Linked DNA regions of Homo sapiens: all the other regions are linked to region 3. Evidence: promoter capture Hi-C in human tissues and cell types (Jung and others, 2019). All regions are on one chromosome and are shown on one strand. Each heading gives the region's core, a stretch centred on a gene start or on the middle of the fragment in contact. The rest is flanking DNA. Distances are from core to core; before and after follow the strand shown. Region 1 has its middle 6.9 kb from the start of CPLX4. Region 2 overlaps GRP (gastrin releasing peptide). Region 3 holds the start of RAX (retina and anterior neural fold homeobox).

Region 1 (3,544 bases), core at 257-2,756, 52 kb after region 3:
CAAAGATTAATTTTCTAACTTACTGTTTACACAGTGGGCTGACCAGTTTGAGCTGAGCTATGTTCATGCCTGGAATTCAGGTATATTTGGCAAATTGTAACATTCGTGGCATGGCTAGCAATAAGTCTATTTGCATTAAGTACTAAGGAGGCTCTTAGGAGAGACTCATCCAGAGCAGACACAGTAAGTTTGCCTCAGTTACAAAGCCTTAGTTCCCAGAGGCTTGAGGAATTCTGTAGTGTCTTTCACTCAGGTTCACCCTGGCCAAGGCTCATGAACCCATTAGGACTGTTTCCTAGAGATAGACCTTTAATTAAATAGTAACAGCCATTCTCACTGAGAACTCTGACACTGGGGCCCATGCATCACTGCTTTAGTATTTTCTTAACAGAAAGTAACATGCAGCGGGGAGAGAGTCATTCTTCTCCATTTGGCCACAAACTACCCATGATGGTTAATTTTACATGCCAACTTGACTGGGTCACTGGATGCCAGCATTATCTGGTTAAACATTGTTTCTGGTGTGTCTGTGAGGCTGTTCATGGAAGAGATTTGCATTTGAATTGGCTGACTGAGGAAAGCAGATGGTCCTCCCCAGTGTGGGTGGGCATCGTCCAATCTGTGAGGGCCTGAATAGAACAAAAAGCCAGAGGAAAGTTGGATTTGCTCTCTGCTTGAGCTGGGAACACTGATCTTCCTCTGCCCGGGACACTCATGGTCCTCAGGCCTTCAGGCTCAGATGGACTCTATACCGTTGGCTCTGGCTTTCAGGCCTTCCGGTTATACAACTGGCTTTTCTGGGTCTCCGGCTTGCAGATGGCAGATCGTGGGACTTCTCAGCCTCCATAATCATGTGAGCCATACCTTACTTATTTTATATGTATATATGTGTATATGTATGCGTGTATGTATTTAAAGGTTGTTACTCTGAAGAACCTAATACACCACTCCATGGACTGGCTCCTGGAAGCCTCCATTGCTTCTGTGGGCAATGGCAGTCGTGAGGGTGCCTGGTCCAGATGACAGAAGTGGCTGCTTGTTTGGCAGGACAGTGAAATCCTCCTGAGTAGCAGTGGGGCCTGTGTGTGTGATGGAACATGGCAGAAACGGTGCCACTGCTGGGCTGACATGGCAGAAATGGCAGATCCAGAATAAAGAGCAGTTAAGGGCCAACATAGGGGATGACGCCATCAGGAGGAGCAACACCCAATGGACATCACAGGGGTTCAGAGAAGAGAAAAAGAGTAAATGCCATGTGGCAGCTGACCAGGCAGCTTCTGGACTTATTTGTGAGGATCTGAGAAACGGAATGGGACTCCCAGCACTGCTGAGGACCATTTCCTTTTTTTTACAACTCATGAGCAGGTAAAGAGCCAAAAATCCTGTGTTGTACTGTTCTGGGTCAGTTCTCTCTCTGATTTTCAGACGCATAGACTAACAATAGCTAACATTTATTGGGCATAAGCATCTCGTTTCTAAGCTCTATTTATGGTGCTCTGTTATCTCAATTATCACCCCATTTTAGAGGTAAAAGATTAAGGTATGTCTCTGCCCTGACTCCAAGCCTATATTGCCTTCTGGCCATTTTTACTTGGTTAGTTAATGTCAGAATCTATGTTCCAAATGGAACTCAACCTCTTCTTCCCTCGTCTTCAATTCCCATCCTTTTTCTTGTGTTCCCTGTTTTAGGACACCTTACATCTAATTCTACTAGCCAGAAACAGAGTATCATTTTACATTCTTCCTTCTCATTCACTCCCCACTTCTAATAGTCATTAGATGCTTGCTATGGCCTGAACGTTTTGTCCCAACACTCCTATGTTGAAATCCTAACGCCCAAGGTGTTACTAATAGGAGATGGGGCCTTTTGTAGGTGATTGGGTTGTTAGGGTAGGGTCTTGATCTTCGACTTCCCAGTCTTCCAGAACAGTGAGCAATAAATTTGTTTTTTATAAGCCACCTCATTTATGGTATTTTGTTAGAGTGGCCCAAACTAACTCTAATTGTCCAATGCTACTATTGATAAGAGTTTTGGCCTTCATTCAGGCCACCATTTTTCACTGGGAGCACTGCGGCTGGTCTCTCTCAAGTCTCCTTCCTCCAATCCATTCTCCATGAAGCAAACAGAGATTGCAATGTTTGAAATGCTATTGCCTTTCTGCTTGATTTTCATGGCCTTCCATTACCCTCTGGATGAAGTCCAAGCTCCTTTACAGAGCCTTGGGATCTGGCCTCTGTATATCCCACCCAACATTTTTCCCAGCATAGCAGAATAAGCTTACAGGTTCTCACATAAACTACAGTTTCTTAACTCCATGCTTTTGTTCATGTTATTTTTTCTGGTTGGAGTAAGTTCACTTCCAGTCCCCCTTGCACTACACATACTTCAGCATATGGCTCAGATAACATCTTCTGTGGGAAGCTTCTCCAACCTACAACCCTGCCTCAGACTCAAGATTCTTCAAATACGTGTGTGCATCAATTCTGAAAAATTCTTAGCTATTACACCTTTGAACAGTTCCTCATCATGACTCTCCCAATTCCTTCTAGAACTACTGGTAGACTTATGTTGTACCTTCTCACCAATTGCCAATTTATTGCATTTTCCACCACTTTAATATCTGTGTTGTACTCTCGGTAATTTGCTCAGGTCTATCTTCTAATTCAAGAATTCTTTCGAGCTTTGTCCAATCTGGTATCCAAATTTGATCCCCACCTCCCATATCAAAGTTGTGTTTTGGGTGGTCCTTTGGAACTCCAACTGTCTTATTTTTCAGTGTTTCATTCCTTCCTCATGATTTCCAGTCCTTTTATAAACTCTTCAGTATTTTTAATGTCATTTCAAGTATACATATTTGTTGTCTTCTTCTGACTGTTCTATCATCTCAGATTCTTGGAGGTGCCAGGTTTCATTATTGTATCTACTGTCACTCTTTCGTATTTCTCTGGTTTGGTTTATAGTTTTTAGAGCTCATTTTAGTTAGGACTGGCTGTCCCTATGGTTGTCTAATGTACTTTTGTTGTGCAATTATTGCTAATGAGTGGTTTTGTTTTGCCTTCTGGATTTTCCCAGACAAGAACAAATTTACACATTGTTTTTGACTTAAAAGAATTCCACACCATATAGGTAAAGCATACAGCTGGGCTTCAATTTCTTAACAAATGTCCCCTTACCCAGAGCTCCAGGGAGAGAGCTTCCTACGCCTTCTCGGAGCTGTTGGGGTGGAAGTAAGAGGTCCTTTCAGCCCATTTCCACTGAAGGAGCAGCTCTTCCAGAGTCCTCACTTTATCCTAGCATCTCAGTTCGAGCCTCCTGGGTTTTCTAGGCCTAAAGCCATGTCTTCAATGCCACAAATGAATTTTCAATGACAATGTCAATAATTTTCAATGACAGTACCTAGGGCCTATGTGTAGTCTAGTTTCTGCCACTCCCTACTACTAGTAGGCTTCCTGATCGGGTTTTAAGTTCTGAATTCTTTCGAACCCATCTATGTATTTAAATCTTTCATCTTATCCACCATTTGTCTTTACCAATTAGTCTATC
Region 2 (3,540 bases), core at 527-3,026, 47 kb before region 3:
TATGGAAGCCTCCTTAGATTTAATCTAGTCTACCCTGTTCATTTTATAGTTGAGAAAATTGAAGACTAGGGGTGCTAAACGACTTGGCAGAGGTGACCTAACTAGTTAGGAGAGGTGCTGGAACCAAACCCAGGGTTCCTGGGTTGCAGTTCTGAATGCTGTCTAGCTCATTGCACATTTTGAACAGAGAGCAAAATCTATCTGTCGTTTATGAACTAACTCTTAATAAAACATGATTTATTCTGCATTTAGGAGGAAGCAGCACAAACACAATTAGCTTTAAATTTCTTTTAAATTTCTCATTCATTCCCTTTGGTTAAATTTGTGGCATTCTGAGTGTTTTTGTTTTTGTTTTTACAGGGCACTTAATGGGGAAAAAGAGCACAGGGGAGTCTTCTTCTGTTTCTGAGAGAGGGAGCCTGAAGCAGCAGCTGAGAGAGTACATCAGGTGGGAAGAAGCTGCAAGGAATTTGCTGGGTCTCATAGAAGCAAAGGAGAACAGAAACCACCAGCCACCTCAACCCAAGGCCCTGGGCAATCAGCAGCCTTCGTGGGATTCAGAGGATAGCAGCAACTTCAAAGATGTAGGTTCAAAAGGCAAAGGTAAAAGAAACATACATGCAAGATGGGGTGGGAGGTATCTGGGGAGAGGTGGAAAGAGGGCAAGTTCAAAGGAGGAAGAATAGAATTGCTTATGATATAAACCTTCACAGTCACTACATTAGGCTAACACATGCTAAGCACATTGACAGACAATTTCTACATTCTCTTCTTTTTGACATATAGTCAAAAGGATATTGATTCCAAACTCCAATTTAGGAGTTTTTTTCAGCAATTTTGTCTATTTGCCATTACGCATTGATGGGATTTTTTTTTTAACACACAGGCCCTACAAGAATGTTTTGATAGTGAGTCTGCAAACTATTTGAGTAAATCCTTGTGGATCTACAGATTTTATTTTATTTCTGGTGAACACTAGTGGAAGTTCCTGTTTTTAGAAGACAGCATTCTTGTTTGCTACCTTTGACACAAAGTAGCACTTCTTCATATTTGTTCCAGGAGTACCTAGTTCAGGTTTCATCCTAATATTTTAAAACTCAGTGAACATGTCTGAGATCAACAAATCCATCCTGTATATGATTTTATAGAGGATAGGGGAAAATAATTATACTAAACTGGCAATGCTTAAAGACAGTGAGCAAGATAAGAGAGAATAAAATTTACAGGAAGAAAGCAAGGCAACTGAAAATGAGGTGATTATCACTAACTTTTAAGTTTCCATGAAATGTATAATAAAATACAAAATAATAATTACAATAACAACGGTGGCTAGTTTTACTGAATATTTACGATAATCCAAGTATTGGGCTAAGCAGTTTACCTCCATTTTCTCGGCTTATGCTCACAGAAGTCTTAGACGGAAGATTCTATTATTCTCTCCATTTTAGAGGTAAGGAAACTAGTCCCATAGCTTTTCACTGATAAAATCAGGGTAAGGGCCTGTGTTCAGTCGGCCTCAGACAGTCTGTACCATGCCAGACATCTTCCAGAAATGGTCCTCATTGATCTTAATATAAAGGATCCAGGCTGAAGGCCTTGCTACTTGCTGCTTCTGACAATAAATAATATTGCTTTCCACTCACAGTACTGGAGAGCTTCCTTCTTCACTCTTTCATGGTGAAGACTGATGGCCCCTTTAGGGGCTCAGAGCTGCCTTTGCCAAGCCTCGGCTGGCTTTCTGGAGGGAAGCTTTCTATTTCACTGCCCTTTGGGTCTATTCTGGTCTTTCTCTTTCTTTTTTTTTCTTTTTTCTTTCTTCCTTCCTTTCTTACAAGTTCTGGCTATGTGGTTTCTTTTCTTCCTTTCTTTCTTTCTTTCTTTCTTTCTTTCTTTCTTTCTTTCTTTCTTTCTTTCTTTCTTTCTTCCTTTCTTTCTTTTCTTTCCTTTCTCTCTTGCTCTCTCTCTCTCTTTTTTTTTTTGACAAGGACTGGCTATGTTGCCCATGCTTGTCTCAAACTCCTGGGCTCAAGTGATTTCCCTCAGCCTTGGCCTCCCAAATGTGGGTTTCTATGCTAAATGGAAACTGAAGTTCACTTGTTGCACTAAGCACCTAGAGGGAAAGTCTTTGTAGCTTTTATTCAGAAAAAAAACAAAAACCAAAAACAATCCTAGATTAAATAAACCAATACAGAAATAAATACCAACTTTGTACAAAACCCCAAGCGATTGTCTGGTCCATACCTGTGTCATAGGTGTTATGTCATCAGCCCCCTTCTTTACTGATTGATCCCATACTCTGAGGGTTCTGTGAACTTGCAGGTGACTTCTCAGATTCTAGCTGCCATGCCTTTTTCATGGTCAGGTGCTTTGCCAGAGTTCCTGTAGGTGGATATCCAACAGCAGTACCCTTCTCATTTGTCTGAACAGTAATAAAAATTGCCACCACAAAACCCTTGAAAATAATTTTTGCAAACATTGAACTGGACTTGCCCTCATAGCTCGTTCATGAAATACTCCCCTCTACTAACACACAATCATGTTACTATTCTATAGTGCCTCATTTTTGAAACAAACAGCAGTGTCCAGTTTGTTATTTTATTTCCTCAACCTGGCTCTGCATATCTTTGGAATCTTTTGGCAAATTCAACTCCTTCCTTAAGGATCAAAAATTTTCCACCACATTCAGAAGAATATTCTGTAAGCTTCAAAGGCAACAGCAAAAAGAATAGCTCCACAAAGGTGTCTGAGTAGCAGTATAATAGGATGGGTTGAGTGGGCAGCTGCCGAGAGTGACTGCTTAAAGGGGGCAGTCCTTATCCCAAGTGAACTGAAAAAGGTCATCAAAAAGATGATAAAAAAAATCAGGCTTTGCTTTTCTATTATTTTTATGCATTGTTTTTCTTTTTACAGGTTTAGAAAGCCCATCTCATTTAATTCCACCTCCAGTTGAATAATTAGTTATCGCACACATTGGTACTATTCTTTTGGCTATATTTCCTAGTAACACAAAAACAAGTTCCACAGTTAGTGTTTGCAGAGACCAAAATATTTTATTGCTTCTCTTGCACTGGAAATTCCACCTCAATGAAAGTATGCTGTTATGAAAATTGAAAACACCTTACAATGATCTTATTCAAAAAGAAGGGGTGCCAAGAGAGTAGTTCTATTAGAACCCATATATCTCCCATATCTTAGAGTTATGGGAGTGTTAGAGGGAAACTTAATAACTTAGCTAAGCATTGCCAGAATTAGCAGCAGGAGTTTTCAGAGGCTGAAGGACTGTTCTTAAAATTAAAAACTATCTACATATGCTCTCCTCTCTCATTTTAGTAATAAAACATCAAGTACTGTTGCCAACTCTCTTGGAGCTGTGGTTAGAAACTCCAAGCATTTCCTATGTTTTGATGACAAAGATATTTACTTAATTCATAAAGGATGTGTGTAATGTGCACTGAAACTAGATTGCTCGACCATGGAAACAGCTCCAGAACTTTCAGAGCAATTATGCCCAGCAATGTTCAAGGTTAACCTTAATCCTTT
Region 3 (3,727 bases), core at 1-2,500:
CATCGAAGATCTGTGCCTCTCCCTTGAGACTCTGGGCATGCCAAGTCGAGGAAGGACAGTAATAAATGCATGGACACCCGTGAATTCCGAGAAGCATTGGCTGCAATTTGGGCCTCGGGCCCTCCCAGATCCCAGTTCCTCAACCTGGGCGCTTTACCTGGACCCGGACCTCTGGTAGGTTGACCTTGCCGGCCAGCTCCTCGCGGCTGTACACGTCCGGGTAGTGGGACTTCTCGAACGCGCGCTCCAGCTCATGCAGCTGGTACGTGGTGAAAGTCGTGCGGTTCCGCCGATGCTTTTTCTTGGGCTGTTCCTCCTCTGACAGTTTCGCTTCGCCGGTGGCTGGCCCGACGGGCAGCCCTGGGCTCGGCCGTGCCTCCCCGGGCTCCTTGGGGCAGTAGGGTCGAGGGGCTGGGGCGACGAGGCCCGGGAGGGTCAGATGCACTCCCCAAAACACCCTTGGGCCGACCCCGCCTCGCTGTGGGCACTGGCCAGCCCGCCTGCGGGCTCCGAGATGGCCCGGGGAGGTCCGTGGTGAGGGCGGCGATGGGTCCTAAGCTTTCTCTGAATGCAAATTGGAAGCTCCCGCCATAGACGGTCCCCAACCCCGCGCCCAGTTGCCTTAATAAAAGTTAAGGAAGGGGCGCTCTCGTCTGGCCAACTCCTAAGCTCGGGCGCCCGAACGGCCTCGCACAGCCAGGGGTGCGCACTCACCTTCGTACTCGGGGGCGGGCGCCGGGGCTGGCGGCGGGGAGGGCTCGGAGCCTTCCTCGGGCGCCTTGGGGCAGGCGGGCCGCGCGCCCAGCCTCCTATCCCGCTCCTTCGCGCCCCGGGCGCCCCGCTCCGCCGGGAAGGTGCCGAGGATCCCGTCGTCCTTGGTAAACCCCAGGATGGCCTCGATGCTGTGAAGTCGCGAGGTGCTCCCGCCCGGGCTGCGGAGCAGGTGGCCGGCAAGCGAGAAGCTCCCGTCGGCCATGGCTGGCGCGCAGCCCGGCAGGTGCATGGGGAGCGCCGGGAGGCGGGAGGGCGCTTTGGAGACGGAGAGGAGAGGCTCGAAGCCGGGTCTTCCCGAGTGCGGCGGTGCAACCCGACGGGTCCCGACCCTAGGTCAAGCTCCGCGGGCGAAGCCCGCCCGGGCTGCGCACGCTGGGGGTGGCCGAGCGCTCAGCCCGCTGCCGCCTTAGTCCCAGAAGTCGGAAGTTCGGGCTCGGGGTAGCTGGGGCTCTCGGCGCTAAAGGCGGGGAGCCAACTGGCCCTCGGCTCCTCCCCTCTCGCCCTGGACCCAGCCCCTTCTCTCGGCCCCTCCCTCCACAGAGGGGCGTGTCCTCACCCGGCCCAGCCACAGGGTCCTCTAGTGGCCACCCCTGGGCCGGCACTAGGAATATTCCCCTTCCACCTCTTGATCCGTTTTAAGCTTTACAAACACACTCCGGGGATCCGCGGCGGGATGCCTGATGGGCTCGGGAACCTGGTCGCGGCGCACCCCTAGTCCTGCCTCAGTGGGGCCGACGCCCTTGGGCTCATCTCTCCCCTTGCGTTTGTCTCCCTCTACTTCGGGCTTACCCTCTCACTTCAGACTACCCCCTGGGGGTCACCTCCCTCCTTGGACGCACCCCTCCCCAGCTTCAGACTCGCCCCTCTAGCCCCCTCTGGCTCACCTCCGCGGGGCCGCCACCCTGGCCTGTGCCCCCTGGAAGCGCCGAGACCCAGCCGAAGGCTTCCCAGCCCCGCACTCGTCGCAGTTTGAATTTCCCCTCGCTGGCTCCCTTTTCGGGACCCACTCCTTTCTTGGCTGGGTTGTACGAAGTCCCGGACCTCGCGTTTAGTTTGTCCGTCTATATCTGTTGTAACTCCTCCCAGTCCCCTCGGACTTGAGCGCCGGCAGCCTCCCTCCTTCCCCGCAGCGCCCACCCCAGGGCCATTTATGTCCGCAAGTCCGGTGACCTCTAGCGCCCGATCGCCCAGCAGGAGACTGGGAGCCCCGAGTCGGATGTGCTGCCGGGCTCAGGTCCCGCAGGAGACCCACCTGGAGTTCCTCGCTCCCGCCCCTTGTCCTGCGGGGAGGGCGGGCTCCTTTACTGATGAGCAGCGGTGTCGCACTCCCGCCTCCCTCCAACACTCCGGGCCAAGGAGATGGCCCAGAGCTGGCTGGGGAAGGACCTTCTCCCGGGGAAGAGGCCTCTCGCCTCCCCGAGGGTTCAGGAGTAATTGGCTTGCAGTTCTTTCTCCTTTGGACCCCCTCGAGGCTTCCGTGGCCCACAGTGACTGATCGGCCACTTGGAAAGATGATTGGATAGGGTGAGTGTGTTTCACCTCCAGCAGCGCGGATGGACAATGGCGCTGTGAACGTCTCACCCCTCAAATCTGAGGCGAGACCCGAGGCGAGCGCTTGGCCTTCCCTGAACTGGTGGCCTGAACCGTGAATTAAAATGCTTTCCTATAAAAGCTCAAGGACCTAGAGGACAATATCCCTAAAATCTCCTTTTCAGTAGGCGCTCTGATCTCCACAGCAGGGGTGTCTTCTTTATCCCGCTTGCGTTCAGACAAGCGTTTGCTGCGTCCCTTTAGAGGGCAAGGCAACCGTCGAGGGCCACGTCGTGGGCATCAAACAAATTGGGAAAGGCCAGGGCCGTTGGCCTGGTGGAGTTTAACGTCCAGTCTGGAAGACAAGACAAAGGAAGAGGGAAAACACACATCCTCAGATCCCCAACCTTTAAATTGGTGTTAGAAGGATGTTTGCGGAGGACAAGTCAATTTCTTAAGGATCATTCAATGGTTAATTCCCCATGATGGGCATATCTACTTTTAATAAAACTATATAATGGCAAACTAAAATAAGGGCAAGCATGTGACTGCAGGAGATAGAAATTGAACTAATTCAAGTCAGAAATTATCTTTTAAGAAAAAAGCTAAAATTAATGAAAGTTAATAGCACTTTACAGTGTTCACATATTACTTTATTTACTTATTATTTATTTGTCTGTTTATTTTAGAGACAGGGTCCCTCTCTGTTGCCCAGGCTGGAGTGCAGTGGCATGATGGTGGCTCACTGCAGCCTGGAACTCCTGGGCTCAAGCAATTCTCTCGACATGTCACTTTGTAGGTTTCAGAATCTTCTCACATTCTTCATGTCATCTGATCTTCACAACCTTGTGAGGTGAGCAGGACAGACATATTGGTCCCCATTTTACAGAAGAGGAAACTGAGGCTCAAAGTGATACAGCTATTAAGTGGAAGGGTCAGGACTAGAACTCAGGCCACTGACTCCTTGTCCAGTGTTTTCTGCCTGCAGCTCATTTGTAATTATTATTGTAGTGTGTGATCTTTTTGAAAAGAATCAAAGCCCATCTTAGCCTGCAGTCTGTCTTTAATCCTTCCCTGAGACTGGATTCTGCATCTAAGAGGCGGAGGTAGAAGCAGTTTAGCTCCCAGAAGAAATAAAGTCAGAGCCTATAGAGAGTGGGCTTTGGGTACCGGCATCCAGGGCAAATTAACAAACCCTCTGGAAAGTCCCCTGACAGACCAGGTTTTGCCTCCTCCTCCGCCCCTCCTCCACCTTTCCAGGGCCCACAAATGGCCTGGTGGCACCCGAAAAGGTCTGACTGCCAGTGACATAGACCAGGTGGCTGACGTGCTGAGGTGGTGGTGATCAGAGGGCAGCTGTGGGGATAATTAATTGGTATTTGTTGTTCCCCCTCTGACCGAGAATGCTTTTTATGCAAACTTC

What was found. Contacts are between HindIII fragments. The study calls those that stand out against the background at their distance.
Region 1: a contact is called between a fragment that was not itself captured here and the fragment with the promoter of RAX in region 3, in 1 of the 25 tissues and cell types used here (H1 embryonic stem cells).
Region 2: a fragment that was not itself captured here is called in contact with the fragment with the promoter of RAX in region 3 in 1 of the 25 tissues and cell types used here (mesendoderm cells).

What each region holds. Positions count from the first base shown.
Region 1 is chr18:59,323,738-59,327,281 of GRCh38, forward strand. No RefSeq gene overlaps it. Among named protein-coding and RNA genes, the nearest start is that of CPLX4, 6.9 kb to the left of the region's middle. The HindIII fragment of the contact is 3,967 bases long and covers 1-3,490 here.
Region 2 is chr18:59,225,132-59,228,671 of GRCh38, forward strand. GRP (gastrin releasing peptide) reads left to right here. Exons shown (of 3, transcript NM_002091.5): 2 at 361-603. Among named protein-coding and RNA genes, the nearest start is that of GRP, 6.7 kb to the left of the region's middle. The HindIII fragment of the contact is 4,769 bases long and covers 1-3,540 here.
Region 3 is chr18:59,272,204-59,275,930 of GRCh38, forward strand. It overlaps RAX (retina and anterior neural fold homeobox), which reads right to left and starts at 1,251. Exons shown (of 3, transcript NM_013435.3): 1 at 715-1,251; 2 at 158-411. The coding sequence starts at 1,003. The HindIII fragment of the contact is 4,384 bases long and covers 987-3,727 here.